2 separate regions of the Homo sapiens genome follow, and region 1 is linked to region 2. The links are contacts of gene promoters, found by promoter capture Hi-C in blood cells and fetal thymus (Javierre and others, 2016). All regions are on one chromosome and are shown on one strand. The core of a region is centred on a gene start or on the middle of the fragment in contact, and the rest is flanking DNA. Distances in the headings are between cores, read along the strand shown.

Region 1 (3,351 bases), core at 370-2,869, 510 kb after region 2:
TTAAAGAACTAAAAGTGGAACTACCATTTGATCCAGCAATCCCACCACTGGGTATCTATCAGAGGAAAACAGTCATTATACGAAAAAGATACTTGCACACGCATGTTTATAGCAGCACAATTCACAATTGCAAAAATGTGGAACCAACCCAAATGCCCATCAATCAACAAGTGGATAAAGAAACTGTGATATATACATATATATATACATACATATATAATATATATATACATATATATATATATACAATGCAATACTACTCAACCATAAAAAAGGATGAATTAATGGCATTTGCAGCAACCTGGATGAGACTGGAGACTATTATTCTAAGTGAAGTAACTCAGGAATGGAAAACCAAACATCATATGTTCTCACTCATAAGTGGGAGCTAAGCTATGAGGATGCAAAGGCATAAGAATAACACAATGGACTTTGGGGGATAAAGGGCAAGGGGTGGGAAGGGGATGAGGGATAAAATACTACAAATTAGGCCAGGCACGGTGGCTCACGCCTGTAATCCCAGCACTTTGGGAGGCCGAGGTGAGGTCAGGAGTTCAAGACCAGCCTGCCCAACACGGTGAAACCCCATCTCCACTAAAAATACAAAAATTAGCCGGGCATGGTAGCAAGCACCTGTAATCCCAGCTATTTGGGAGGTTGAGGCAGGAGAATCGCTTGAACCCGGGAGACGGAGGTTGCAGTGAGCCGAGATCGTGCCACTGCACTCCAGCCTGGTTGACAGAGCGAGACTCAGTGAAAAACAAACAAACCTACAAATTGGGTGCAGTGCGTACTGCTCGGATGATAGGTGCACCAAAATCTCAGAAATCAGCGCTAAAGAACTTATTCATGTAACCAAACGGCACCTGTTTCCCAGTAACCTATGGAAATAAAAATTAAAAAAAAAAATAAATAAAAGCTGCTGAAACCACTTAGCCTCCTTCACAGTGAAAATGGTGCTATGTTTTTCACGCCTATTTGCAAACTTTGTGCCAAACTAAATGTTAACAAGAACTTTAAAGAAAAGTTTCACCTCCAAACCACAAACAGTGCTCTGAAAGTGCAAAAACAGCAAAAAGTCAAACACAAACAAGCCTAAAGCTTTGTGAGGCCAGAAGAAACCACAGGTCATAGAAAAATACACTTTCCCTTTCACACTCTCAGTATCATACTCGGGGGCTGTCATGAGAGCGAGGGTGTCTGGGCTTAATACAGTCACCTTGCAGCACCTAAGCCATGACACCTCAGCTATCTGCGTGTAGCACAAGGAGGACACCGAACAGGGATGGAATGTGCACATCACTGAGAGCGTTTTTATGTTGACTTTCCTCTCTGTATCAGCACCAGAACGTCTTCCTGTTAGCTTCAGTGGTCTCTGTGTTGTCAAGGAAAATGACCCACAGTAACTGTCTACTCACCAGCTTTGCCTAAGTCACACTTATAAGGCTCTTGATGCGTAACAGGCTTATTAGTTTCCAAGCAGGTAGCATTGATTGGTAAAGGAGGAAAAGACTCCCCATTTATGCTATCAATCAGCCTCTCTTACAGTAATCTTTTAGGCATTTCAACAGCAAAATAGGCAGGTGTTTACCAAAAAAGCCTTCATAAGCACATCAAAGTTCATATTTTAGCTGCTTAAGAAAAAAAATTAACTATGGGACATTTCCATAAACAATAGACCAGGCACGGTAGCTCATGCCTGTAATCCCAGCACTCTGGGGGGCCGAGGCAGGTAGATCGTCTGAGGTCAAGAGTTCTAGGCCAGCCTGGCCAACATGGTGAAACTCTGTCTCTACCAAAAATACAAAACATTAGCTGGGCGTGGTAGTGCACGCCTGTAATCCCAGCTACGTGGGAGGCTGAAGCATGAGAATCACTTGAACCCGGGAGGTGGAGGTTGCAGTGAGCTGAGATCACACCACTGCACTCCAGCCTGGGCAACAAAGTGAGACTCCATCTCAATAAATAAATAAATAAATAAATAAATAAATAAATAAATAAATAAATATTTTGTCTTAATGACTCATTTGCAGAAGTCAATGTATCACTCAAGGCAATGAAGTTTAGCATTATAGAGTTCAAGATCATATACAAAGACCTGTCCTCAAATTCCCCTCAAATGAAAAACAGTATGCCAGTAAGCTTAGTAAATAATTCGTGGAAAAAAAAATACATCTCTAGAAAATGATTTTTTTAAATTTTATTCATTAGATTGCACTGTTTATAACAGCAACAAATTGGATGCCTGCCAGTAGAAAACTGGTTAAAATACTGGCACATAGTAAATGCTCACTAAATGCTTACTGAATGAATACATGAATGATAACAGTTTCCATTGCTTCCAAAGCTCCCTTGCTTCCCTCCTATTCTCTAGGCTCCTGTTGATTCTGTGAGCTCCAAAAGCTCTCCAGTAAATCTTGTCTCTGTTTATGATTGCAACCCAAAAAAGCTGATGGATACATAATATTAAATGTGGTAAAAAACCAAATTCACTTTATACCAATTCCATTCTACAAACAATATTATATTTCAGTTCAATATAATTATAAAGGTATAGTTTTAGAATTAGTTCCGTTGTTTCCTGATATACCAAATCCTACTTCAACCCTTAAGAGGTTTAAAAATAAAGTGAGGTCTCTTCACTTGACATATGTATCAGAATGGAACACTGGTAATTAGAAGACTTATCAGAGATCATAAGCTCCAATGGACAGAGATGTCCCAGACAGTCACAAGGTGAAAAAAGGTACACCAGTGACAATTAGGAAGACGCACAGGTTGGTGGTAGGCATATTGATTTAGTCGCAAGTAGAATTGGCCAAGTAGGACAATGAAGAAGGATACTGAAGGATATTGAAAGGATACTGAAAAACAGGGTCAAGGAAAGCAGAAGGCGCTCTTTACTGGAGGACTTAATACAAAATAGGTAGCAGGGAAACCCAAGATTATCCTATTCAAAATATGGGACCTGAAGGGCAGATCTAGTAGGGGAAAGCAGTTCTATGCTGTAACTTACACTCCACAAGTACTGCCATCCAAATAGCCTGTATTTGGGCTGGGTGCCGTGATTCACACTTGTAGTCTCAGCGCTTTGGGAGGCTGAGGCGGGAGAATCATTTGAAGCCAGGAGTTAAAGACCAGCTTGGGTAACAAAGTGAGAGCCCATCTGTACAAAATAAAAAGTTAGCTGGGGCCAGGCGCTGTGGCTCATGCCTGTAATCCCAGCACTTTGGAAGACCGAGGCAGGTGGATCACCTGAGGTCAGGAGTTCGAGACCAGCCTGGCCAACATGGTAAAACCCCATCTCTACTAAGAATATAAAAATTAGCCGGGCGTGGTGGCACGCGCCTG
Region 2 (3,439 bases), core at 161-2,660:
AATGCGCTCCCCACGCCCACGGACGCCCCAGGGGCGCCAGGCGCTGCTCTAGGCTGAGACTCAGCCGACTCAGACAAGGGCCCTGCCCTCTCGCCCTATCTCATCCTGGAGAAGAGTACCCTCTTCTTAGAACAAGCATCTCACTTCCGTGCACTTCAACTTCGTTTGTGGCAGTGCAGGGTACTTTGCAAAGCTAAAAAGTAGTTTATGCGAAAGGGAGACTCTTTTTCCTTAGAGGATTTGCCAAGTTGTAATCACAAATTCTTTTTGAGATACACGTACATTTTTTTAAAGCTAAATAAGATTTCCCCCCAGTTTTATAACTCAAGAATGTATTTTCTCAAGGACTTGGGAGTCATCTCTTTGAAATGTCATCCCCGTCTCCCAGTTTTGTGGGAGGGTAGGAGCCCAGCTACCAGAGAGCACCTGGCTTCAAATTGTAAACCTACCTCCTGTCATAAAGGTATGAAAATTCATTTTTCCTTTGGATAAAGGCAATTAGCAAACGCAAATGGCCACTGCATTTACCAATGGCCACTCCATCATCAGGCGAATTTAGGATGAACTCTGCGACAAATGGTGTAGTGGAGTCCCCTCCCCGGAGGGCTGTCTCGTTTACCTCGGGAGCATGCGTGGGGTAGGTTGCATCCTCCCGGCTGTTTGATACAGGCTGAGATTTCTGTCTTTGCAGCCTATTTGGCGGATTGCTTGTGATGCACATCACATGCTGGTTTTGTTTTGTTTTGTTTTGTTTTGTTTTGTTTTGTTTGAGACGGAGTCTCGCTCTGTTGCCCAGGCTGGAGTGCAGTGGCGGGATCTCGGCTCACTGCAAGCTCCGCCTCCCGGGTTCACGCCATTCTCCTGCCTCAGCCTCCCGAGCAGCTGGTACTACAGGCGCCCGCCACCACGCCCGGCTAATTTTTTGTATTTTTAGTAGAGACGGGGTTTCACCGTGTTAGCCAGGATGGTCTTGATCTCCTGACCTCGTGATCCGCCCGCCTCGGCCTCCCAAAGTGCTGGGATTACAGGCGTGAGCCACCGCGCCCGGCCTCACATGCTGGTTTAATGTTTGTTCAAGACCCAAACTGCAGTGGAGTTTTGAGGGTTGGCAGGTTTGTTTTTCATCACACGTCCCCGACAGTACAAACCGGCGTAGCTGGACAGGGCCTTGGGAGAATTTGGACAGTGGGAGTAAGGACGAGCGTCGCCTCCTACGCCCGCGGCATCTGCAGCAAGCGCGCATCGCGCACCCCAGGGTAGCAGCGCAGGTCTGGGGCTGCGCCACAGCCGCGCCCGCAGAGCTATTTTTAGCCGCTGCAGCCAGCCTAGCCACCAGACGGGGTGGGCGGCATCCAAGGGCGCCCCGCCCATCGAGGCCCCGCCCACGCCGCGCCCGGAGCCGCGCGGCCCGAAGCACCCGGCCCGGATCGCAGAGCCCGCGCCCTGCGCCGGCGGCAATGAAGATCTGGAGCTCGGAGCACGTGTTTGGGTGAGGCCGGGCTGAGGGCCGCGGTGGGGCCGTCCAGACGCCGGCTCCTGCTCCCGAGCCCGGCTGGAGCGGTCCAGGAAAGGCCGGACCTCACAGCGGGCCTCGCGGAGATCCCCGCCCCGCGCCGGCCGTTCCCAGACCGCAACTTCGGCGTCCCGGAGAGGGCACGCGCGCTTCCCCGGGACCGCGGTCTGGGCGAGGCTCTGCGCCGGGTACGGCCTCTCCCCCGGCGTGCGCAGGGGCCTGGCTGCAGGCACAGAGGCCCCGCTGGTGGTCGACAGCCAGGGCGGGGGCAGCCGGAGCGGGGGCGGCCGGGGCGGGGGCGGCCGGAGCCGGGGGGGCGGCCGGGGGCCTGGCGCTCGCTGCTCTCCTTGGGGTCGGGAGCAGGGCAGGGGAGAGGCCTGCAAGCTGGCGCCTTTGCTGAGATTGTCATAAACCTTCCGCGCGTTTCACGGAGGGCCCACGGCGGGCTGTGAGCTCTGGAGGAAGCTAAAGGGGCAGAAGGCATTTCGGGGGCCCTGGCTCTGAACTCACTTGTAGGCATGGAAGGCCTCCAAGCTAGCGTGGAAAACCTCGAACTGTTTAAAAATGCTCCCCCGGCACACGGATGGAAGTGGAGGTCATTATCTTAAGTGAAGCCAGGCCCAGAAAGACAAGTATCGCATGTTCCCACTCCTAAGTGGGTGCTTAAGAATGTGTTCACATGGATGTGGAGAGTGGAACGTCAGATGATGGAGACTCTGAAGGGTGAGGGGGTGGGTGCAGGGAGGATAATGAGAATTGCTTAATGGGTGCAAGACACCTTCCCGGGTAATGCATACCCTAGAAGTCCTGACTTGACCACTACGAAATTTATGCATGTAACGAAATTGCACATATACTCCATAGAATTGTGCAAATAAAAAGAAGAAAAAAGTGCCCTCCTAACCTAAGTGGTATCTTTTCCTTAAGTCAGTGATCTGTGACACACTGAAATTATTCTTTAATGTTTATTTACAGCAACAAAGATTTTTTAATTATCTGACCTCACTTAAGCATTAAATATTTTATTTTGGGGGGAAAAAAAGTACTGCGTGGAAGGAAATTGTCATCCTTTGACTCTTTTTATTTATTTTTTTCGAGACAGAGTCTCATTCTGTCACCCAGGCTGGGTTTTTTTTTTTTTTTTTTTTTTTTTGAGACATAGGCTCGCTGGGTCACCCAGGTTGGAGTGCAATGGCGCGATCTTGGCTCACTGTAACCTCCCCCTCCTGGGTTCAAGTGATTCTCGTGCCTCAGCCTCCTGAGTAGCTGGGACTACAGGTGTGGGCCATCACGCCCGGCTAATTTTTGTATTTTTAGTAGAAACAGGGTTTCGCCATGTTGGCCAGGCTGGTCTCGAGCTCCTGACCTCAGGTGATCCACCCGCCTCGGCCTCCCAAAGTGCTGGGATTATAGGTGTGAGCCACCGTGACTGGCCTGACTTTAAACATGTAAAATTATAATAAAAATATATCAAGTGGTTTCAAAACCTCTGAAATTATTTTTCATGAAGTCTTTAGACTTGATGGGATCTAATTTTTTGTATGGCTTGCAGTGTTTCTCAAGTGGGTTTCCATCAGCAACAAGGATGGGGGCATCACTGAGCCGTCTGGATGCTGTGGACAGTTAAGTCATTGCATACCAGGAGTGCCAGGTGGTTGGGGCTCAGTTTTCTCATGGAATGGCCGAGGTCTGCCCTAGAGGTTTGTGAAATGTCTGTGGACAAGCACAAATGAATAGCTAGCTGTGAAAAATCACAGTTGATGCTTTTGAAAATTGTTGCAGCTGCTAACTCCCATTTATTTTTTTTAAGCTTTACCGAAGGATACTTTACATACCATAAAATTATACACATTTTAAGTGTATAATTCATTAAGTTTTGCTAAGTATGACCATCACACACACAGTCCAGTCTTAGAACACTTCTGT

Evidence for each region. The method cuts DNA at HindIII sites, captures the fragments that hold promoters and counts their contacts. A CHiCAGO score of 5 or more calls a contact.
Region 1: a contact is called between a fragment that was not itself captured here and the fragment with the promoter of PRELID3A in region 2, in 2 of 17 cell types (naive CD8 T cells and total CD8 T cells). The highest score is 7.3, in naive CD8 T cells.

What each region holds. Positions count from the first base shown.
Region 1 is chr18:12,920,213-12,923,563 of GRCh38, forward strand. No RefSeq gene overlaps it. Among named protein-coding and RNA genes, the nearest start is that of SEH1L, 26 kb to the right of the region's middle. The HindIII fragment of the contact is 1,041 bases long and covers 1,100-2,140 here.
Region 2 is chr18:12,406,519-12,409,957 of GRCh38, forward strand. It overlaps PRELID3A (PRELI domain containing 3A), which reads left to right and starts at 1,411. Exons shown (of 7, transcript NM_001142405.2): 1 at 1,411-1,489. The coding sequence starts at 1,458. RefSeq lists enhancers at 810-1,471, 1,472-2,131, 1,989-2,238 and a silencer at 1,209-1,788. The HindIII fragment of the contact is 9,540 bases long and covers 1-3,321 here.